3 separate regions of the Homo sapiens genome follow, and regions 1 and 3 are each linked to region 2. Evidence: promoter capture Hi-C in 16 types of primary human blood cells and fetal thymus (Javierre and others, 2016). All regions are on one chromosome and are shown on one strand. Each heading gives the region's core, a stretch centred on a gene start or on the middle of the fragment in contact. The rest is flanking DNA. Distances are from core to core; before and after follow the strand shown.

What was found. Contacts are between HindIII fragments. The CHiCAGO score rates a contact against its expected background, and 5 or more counts as called.
Region 1: a fragment that was not itself captured here is called in contact with the fragment with the promoter of SEC24B in region 2 in 7 of 17 cell types (naive CD4 T cells, activated CD4 T cells, non-activated CD4 T cells and 4 more); the score reaches 9.4 in naive CD4 T cells.
Region 3: a contact is called between a fragment that was not itself captured here and the fragment with the promoter of SEC24B in region 2, in 3 of 17 cell types (naive CD4 T cells, naive CD8 T cells and activated CD4 T cells). The highest score is 5.9, in naive CD4 T cells.

Annotation. Positions count from the first base shown.
Region 1 is chr4:109,670,490-109,673,189 of GRCh38, forward strand. The region is part of intron 4 of MCUB (mitochondrial calcium uniporter dominant negative subunit beta); the gene reads left to right. It also overlaps a transcript of CASP6 not described here. Among named protein-coding and RNA genes, the nearest start is that of CASP6, 32 kb to the right of the region's middle. The HindIII fragment of the contact is 3,992 bases long and covers 1-2,700 here.
Region 2 is chr4:109,432,396-109,435,095 of GRCh38, forward strand. SEC24B (SEC24 homolog B, COPII component) reads left to right here and starts at 1,420. Exons shown (of 24, transcript NM_006323.5): 1 at 1,420-1,607. The coding sequence starts at 1,475. It overlaps SEC24B-AS1 (SEC24B antisense RNA 1), which reads right to left and starts at 1,422. Exons shown (of 3, transcript NR_039978.1): 1 at 1,339-1,422. RefSeq lists silencers at 1,050-1,439, 1,490-1,759, 2,138-2,432 and enhancers at 1,314-2,173, 2,250-2,399. The HindIII fragment of the contact is 940 bases long and covers 1,328-2,267 here.
Region 3 is chr4:109,635,642-109,638,341 of GRCh38, forward strand. The region is part of intron 1 of MCUB (mitochondrial calcium uniporter dominant negative subunit beta); the gene reads left to right. Among named protein-coding and RNA genes, the nearest start is that of CASP6, 66 kb to the right of the region's middle. The HindIII fragment of the contact is 210 bases long and covers 1,273-1,482 here.

The DNA.
Region 1 (2,700 bases), core at 23-2,522, 240 kb after region 2:
GTGGGGATCACTGGGTCAGGAGTTTGAGATCAGCCTGCCAACATGGTGAAACCCTGTCTCTACTAAAAATACAAAAATTAGCTGGGCATGGGGGCAGGTGCCTGTAATCACAGGTACTCGGGAGGCTGAGGCAGGAGAATCGCTTGAACCCGGAAGGCGGAAGCTGCAGTGAGCCAAGATCATGTCATTGCACTCCAGCCTGGGCAACAGAGCGAGGAGACTCTGTCTCCAAAAAAAAAAAAGAAAAAGAAAAAGAACAGAATTCTCTGGCATATTTCAAAATCACTACTTTTCCTTTCCTGCTGCCGTAAGGAGGAGGAGATTTTTCTTCAGTTTTCACTGTATCTAGTAGAGCTCCTAGAAGTGAAACTCACAAAAGTGTGGGAATGCGCCCACCTATGGGACTCCCTGGAATGCTTACATTTCAAGAGTTGTCCACGCTGAGCCTCCAGCAATTTGTCAGTTACAGTTCAGGTTTTCCTACCCTGGTACTGATTCTTTGCAGATTTCTGCTCATGAGTCTCTGCTTCGCTAAGTTGTCATTGTCTGTATTTATCTATCTTTTCAATTTTGGCGACAGCAATTTTCCCTCTAACCTTAGTTTTCTTATGCATCTAAGAAAAGTTGTTGATTTTCATTGTATTCAGCCATTTATTAATTGTTAGGATGGACTGACAACTTTGGAGTTTTTTTATGTCAGACAGGAAACTGGAAGTCTTAACTTTTTCTTAAAGAGAGCTTTTTTCATCTCAAATTACCATTTTGGCCATTAGCAATATTCTTTTGGACAGTTCTCAGCCATTATTAGTTCAAATAGTGCTGCTTTTCCCTTCTCTCTTTTTTCTTCTTCTAGTAGTCCCATTATGCCTAAGTTACACTTGTGCAATTGTCCCACAGTTCTTAGATATTTTGTTAGGTTTTTTTTCCATTCTTTTTTCTCTTTGACCTTCAGTTTGAGAAAGTTTCTGTTGGCATACCCCCAAGCTGACTGATTCTTTCCTCCCCAGTGTGTAGTCTACTGATGAGCCCATCAAAGGCATTCTTCATTTCTGTTACAGTGGTTTTTATTTCTAGCAATTCCTTTTGGTTCTTTCTAAGTTTCTATCTCTCCATTTACATTACTCATCTGTTCTTGCATATTGTGCACTTTTTCCATTAGAGCCTTTAATCATAGTTGCTTTACTATCCTACTCTGATACTTCCAAAATCTCTGCCATATCAGAGCCTGGTTCTGATGCTTGTTTTGTCTCTTCAAACTGTGGTTGTTGTTGTTTTTTTCTTTGCCTTTTAGCTTGTCTTTAAATTTTTTGCTGAAAGCTAGACATGATGTATCAGGCAATAGAAACTGAGCTGAATAGGTCTTTAGTGTGAGGTTTTATGTGGCTAGGAGTTAGATGTTTAATGTTTGCTGTAGCTGTAGGTATCAGAGGCTTTCCTCTAGTGTCCTTATTTTTGTTTCTCCTGATGTTTTGGGGTTTCCCTATAAATTCTTTCTCAAATAGAATCTGTGCCTTGTATAAAACTGGAGCCCTGTTAATGTAGTGGTAAGATATTGAGGAGAGGAATCATTCTATAATCTTATTATTAAATATATATATATTTTTAATTGGGCCTGTGTCTCTAAAATGTAATATTTACAAGAGTTTCTTAGCCTCTTTTATTCTCCTGTGTGAGGCAGTAAGGCTAGAGGGGTCTGTAGTTGACTAATTGCCCTTTCTCCAAGCCAGATAAGGCTCTGGTAAAGTAGTTTCCTATTATGGAGGACATGTGCTCAGGGCTATTTCAGAATGGTTATTTTTCCTTCCCTCCTGCCCAAAGCAGGGAGAGTATTTTTCTCTGATCTCTGATCTTCACTGTGAGAACCTGGTAAGGTTCCAGGAGATAAAACTCATGAAAGTGTGGGAGTTTTTCCTTCAATGCTAGTTTACACTGAGTGTCCAGCAATTCACCAATTACAGTTTAAGAATTCTGGCTAGTATTGGCTCCTGAGGCTTCTTCTCCCAGTAAGCTATAATTATAGACTGTTAAGGGTAGGAGGAAGAAATTCATAAGTCTATGCCTTAATAAATTGGTGATAAAAGAAATAGATCAACAAATAATAGAAGGCTCTTACTTACAGTGAGGTGCTGAGCATCTACTGGTAAATGTGGGAGAGTTTCTGGAGGTGGAAAATCATCACTTTGCAGCCAAATTCTAGATCAGGCAAGAGCCATCAACAGGGAGGGAATTTAGATAAGAAATTTCTGTTAAAAAAAGTCCTCCAGCTTGAAGCAGCTCCAGCTAACCATTATCTGGTACAGTTTGAACACCAGTGACTCCTGTGTCTTTGTGACTTGCTCCCTCTCCCCCTTTTTTTGTAAGTACTTTTACTTTTTGATATAGAAAGATGATCCAGGTTGACCTTGTACCTATCATGTCCCATCACTTTTATCAGCCATTTCTCTGAGGACCCCTCAAACAAAAATAATTTTTTAAAATTTTAATTGTATATTTGAACATTATGCGGGATTTTCAAATACAAACAAGAAAAAAGAAATTAAAATGAATCACTCATTTCAACACTTACAAACTTGCTTCCATTCTGAATTCTCTTTTAACATCAGGGCAGTATTTAACTTCAAAGAGAGAAGGGTGACAGAAATTGGAAAATATGGAAGAGGAAATCCCTGTTAAGATATTATACAACTTTCATGTCCAGTG
Region 2 (2,700 bases), core at 170-2,669:
CTTACCCACGTAATTATAGACCTTAATCCAAATTCAAAGGACTCCTGGGAGATGCTGGAATCTGTAATTGTGTAATCTCTTTGATGAAGCACAGAGTGTGATCTTTTGCTCATGTGGGGCTAGGTTTCTGTGGAGAAGCTGGAAATGCTGTGGAAAAGGGCTTGCCCCTTTTGTGTATATGAACTCTAATGTAGTTGAAATTCCTAGAAGTCAAAGATATAAATCTAACTACTAAAATTCATTTAGTGCATTAAAATGCCAGTTATTAATTTACGGCAACAACTAAAGGGAAGCTTTGTATTATTCTAGGACTACAATGCAATTTATGCTTTGCATAATCATTCAGTAAATGACTTATTGCTCCAGAAATACCATCTTGCTAGATCCCATTCTGAATTCAGTGTTTCTGAGCAATCTCATCTCCAATACAGAGTGATGACATACTCAGGATTCCAAGACGGCAAAATGACTTGGGTAATGTAGTCTAGGGCCTGCCAGTGAGTATGCTGAGACAGACCAGAAAGACTTAAAGATTCCACTAATGTAGACAAAGCAAGCTGAGCCACAACTTCTCGGAACACCAACAGGATGCACCAACAATCGACAAAAAAAAAAAAAAAAAAGGAGATAAAGTTTAAAGTTTGTCTTCCAGCATTCCCTTACCCTATTTTCCCCTTCCTCTTCCCTACTTTATCAGTGGGAAAAGTTCTCAATAATGCAATTCTTACTGAGATTCTTGTGTTTATCAGAGAAATGTTTCCTCTTTCTTTGCCAAGGAATTATATATTCCCAACAGACATGGCGCTTGAATGCTATATTTCCTTTGGAATCAAGAAAGGGGAGGTGGGGGAATCAAAAATTAAAAACCAAACCCAAGCCATTGTTCCTCTTCGAGGAAGGGTGGGTGGTCAGTCGTCGCCTGAGCTCCGAACATCAACCCGCGGCTCTCAAGTTCCCCTCCCAGTAATGCTGGGCCCAGCCTCGCCGCGGCCGATCCAGCCTCTGCCCTAGGTGGAAGCGGGCCACCCGGTCCCTTCACCCACTGAGGCCCAGTCCTTTCGCCTCAACACGAAGGCACCTGGCCGGGCCGGAGCAGCAGCCGCGGGGCCGGCACTGGGGCCACGGAACCCCGGGCCAGACTCAGGCCTGGGCCAGCTCGGCTCCGGCCTGCAGGGGGCGCTGCGGCGGCACCGGCGCGAGGCCCGCGCGTGCGGGGAGCGACCCCAGGTGTAAGTCCCGGGGCGTGGGGCGCGTGGGTCAAGGCGGAGCGACCCAGGATCCCCGCGCCCGCGGCGGCCGCCGAGTGGCAGCGCTGGACTCGCGGAGAAGCTTGGGTACCTGAGCCGCGGTCCCGGGTGACACCCTCAGTGACGCCAGGCGCGTTCCTTCCTCTTCCTCTCTCCTCTCCGGCCCCGCCTTCCCTTCCCTCCGCCCACCTCCCTGAAGCGGAGCCGCCGTCGCCACCAGCGCCGTCATGTCGGCCCCCGCCGGGTCCTCTCACCCGGCCGCCAGCGCCCGGATCCCGCCCAAGTTCGGCGGAGCGGCCGTCTCAGGAGCCGCAGCGCCCGCGGGCCCGGGTGCGGGCCCGGCGCCGCACCAGCAGAACGGTGAGGCGGGCGGCCCGGGCGGAGCGCGGGGCCTAGCACCGGCTGGGCGGCCTGCACGGCCACATCGGGGCGGGGCGGGCCGGGCCGGGAAGGGCGTTCGGGGCCAGGCCCGGCCCGAGGGACGGGAGCGGGCGCGGTGCGGAGGCCGCGGGGTCCGGGTTGGGTGCGGGTAGGGGGCAGGGAAGGCACGGCGCGGGGCGCGCGGGGGTGGGACGCCCCTGGCGTGGGGGCGGGGGCCGGCCTGGGAAAGCTGGGGCCGTGGCTGTTTATGTAATGCGACCCCAGGCCCGAAACGGCCTCGGGCGAGTAGGGGCGACTGAAAAGCTGGGAGCCCACGTAGTAAAACCCAGTTACCTAGCCTGGACGCGGGCGAGTTGCCCCGAGCGACCCCTTGGCTGCGAGAGCTGGCCAGAAGCCGAGGCCGCTGAGTGCGTGGTCCGGAGAAGGCTGGTGCAGCCACCCAGCAGGGTGGATTGTGCCCTTCCTGTCTCAGGAAAATTGCTTCGGTTCCCGAGGCCCAGCGAACACGCTGCCTTGAGGAAACTTAAGTTTGCACTCAAGTTTGTAGACAAAAGGGTGTAAATATGCTATATAAGTGTAACTGTAACCCTGACCCAGTTCGGCCTCAAGAACTGTCATTGCCGCTGCGGCTGCTGCTCAAGCTTTTGGAGTTTGCTTGTAGTGTTTGAAAGGGAGCAGATGTAAACGGATTTAAACGAACATCTTTAGATCTGGGTGTTTTTCCTAGCTCCACTTTCAGAGATGAAAAAACGTGCCAGAGTTGGCCCTGCTTTGAGGCAGGGCCTTCATACAGGCAGCAGCCAAATGCAGCACGAAAGCCGCTTTCATATTAAGGTCGTGGGCTTTTAGTAGGCTGCAAAATGATGGATATGCATTCCCTAATGCTGAGATTTGGAATGTTCGCGGATAGGGGCCAAGGGTGGAGGAATTCTCCTTACAGACTTCTTAGTATGTCAGATGAGAACCTTGGAAAGTAATTGACTGAATTTAGAAAAATACCTCTGTCCTGTGTTGGTACGAGAACCAAACTGCATTAGTACTCTCCAGATGATTGACCTGTTTTATCTAATTT
Region 3 (2,700 bases), core at 128-2,627, 200 kb after region 2:
TTCTCTTTCGGCTTTGGAGCCTCCCTCCCTCTCTCTCTACAAGGGAGCGTCTTCCTTCCTTCCTTCTCCCTTCCTTCTCGCCTATTAAATTCTCTGTTCCTTAAAACCACTCCACGTGTGTCTGTGTCTTCTCATCTAATTCAAGGTAAAACAAAAAAGCCCTGGTGTTTCTCCACTCATCCGAGCCGTATCATTTGTACTGATGATGAAGATTTGTGTGGTTTCCAGTTTTTGCTTATTATGTAAAATGCAGCTCTAAACTTTGTTTGTCTTTTAAGAACATATGCAATTAATTATTTTGGTTTACACTTAGGAGTAGAATTTCTGGGTCATTAGGTATATGTGTATTTAGAGATACTGCCAGTTTTCCAAAGTGTAGTTGACACTCCCAACAGTAGTGTACAAAAGTTTCATTTTGAGCATAGACTTAGTCTCAATCTAATTCCGGGACTGGGTATCTAACTGACCCAGCTTGGAGCTGGTATCTGGTCAATTACAATGAGGGGATTAAGGGTCACATAGTACAGACATGGTTTTGGGAGGCCCACCACTGCTGCATTCTAGGTGGAAGTAGAGGCAATTTCTAAAACATCGGAGATTGTATGAACTGGGTAGATACCCTAAAAGGTTTCAGTCACATATATACAAATTAGATGCACAAGGAGAGGCTCTGGACTGGAGATACAGCTTCAAGCCATCAGCAAAGTAATGTAGTTGAAGCAACGTGACTAGATGAGATTGCCTAAGGACACTGCTTAGAGTGAGATAAGAGAGGGTAGCCTCTGTTAGAACTCTGGAAAACACCAACATTTAAAGGATGACAAGAAGAGGAATCTCTAAAGTAAACTGAGAAAATATAATCAGAAATCCAACGGAATGTGATGTCATGAAAGTTAAGAAAGAGAATGTTTGGCCGGGCACAGTGGCTCACACCCATAATCCCAGCACTTTAGGAGGCCGAGGCGGGCAGATCACCTGAGGTCAGGAGTTCGAGACCAACCTGGCCAACGTGGCAAAACCCCATCTTTACTAAAAATACAAAAATTAGCCTGATATGGTGGTGCCCACCTGTAATCCCAGCTACTTGGGAGGCTGAGGCAGGAGAATCGCTTGAACCTGGGAGGCGGAGGTTGCAGTGAGCCAAGATCGTGCCACCGCACTCCAGCCTGGGAGACGGAGTGAGACTCCATCTCAAAAAACAACAACAAAAATGTTTCAAGGAAGAGAGAGTGATCAAAAGTGGCGATTGCTTCTGCAAGGTCAGCAATGAAAAGCTTTCATATGATCTAGAGACCAGTAGTCCAGTGGCCTTCTGAGAGTAATTTTAGTGAAATGATGGGGCAGAAGCCAGATTGCAATGGGTCAGGAATGTGTGAAAGATGAGGAGATAGAGATAATAAATGTCACCAACTTGTTCAAGTCATTTAGCTATGGAAGGAAGAGGAAGCAGGCATAGAGAAAGGGCAGTCAGAAGGCAGGAGAAGCTTGAGCAGACTTACCTGCTGATGAGGAAGATGCAGTTGAGAAAGATACTCAGTAAAGTAAGGTCACTTGGAAGGAGATATGATCCCAAGCTGTGGGGAAATGTGTCAGCCCTATGGGGACACAGAAAGACTTCTTCCAGTGTAACCATAAGGGAGCAGGGAAAGATGACTGGTTTTGTGGCTGAAGTTTGAAAGAGGCTAGTCACTCAGTACATACTAGGTGTTCAGTAAAATTAGCTGAATTAATTGAGGACTAAATGACTTTATACAAGTATCTACCCAGGGGAAAAGAAGTCATTATACGAAAAAGATACTTGCACACCCTTGTTTATTGCAGCACAATTTGCAATTGCAAAACTATGGAACCAGCCCAAATGCCCATCAATCAACAAGTGAATAAAGAAAATGTAGTGTACACACACACACAATGGAATATTACTCAGCCATAAAAAGGAATGAAGTAATGGCATTTGCAACAACCTGGATGGAATTGTAGACTAATACTCTAAGTGAAGTAACTCAGGAATGGAAAACCAAACATTTTTGTTCTCATTCATAAGTGGGAGCTAAGCTATGAGTACCCAAAGGCGTAAGAATGATACAGTGTACTTTGGGGACTCGGGAAAATGGTGGGAGGGGGGTGAGGGAATATACTACACACTGGGTACAGTGCTACTTGGGTAATGAATGCACCAAAATTTCAGAAATCACCACTAAAGAACTAATTCATGTAACCAAATACGACCTGTTCCCAAAACCCATTGAAATAAAATATAATTAAGTAAATTTTTAAAATGTTTAAAATGACTGTATATAGGCATACCTCAGAGATATTGCAGGTTTGGTTCCAGACCACTACAGTAAAGCAAGTCTTGCAATAAAATGAGTCACAACATTTTTTGTTTGTTTTGTTTTGTTTCCTAGTGCATATTGAAGTTATGTTTACAGTCCAGGGCCTGGTGGCTCATGCCTGTAATCCCAGCACTTTGGGAGGCCAAGGCAAGAGGATCACTTTAGCCCAGGAGTTTGAGACAAACGTGGGCAACATGGTGAAACCCCATGTCTACAAAAAAATACAAAAATTAGCTGGACATGGTGGCGCATGCCTGTAGTCCCAATTACTAGGGAGGCTGAGGTAGGAGGATCACTTGAACCCAGGAGGTCAAGGCAGCAGTGAACTGAGATCATGCCAGTGCACTCCAGCCTGGGCAACAGA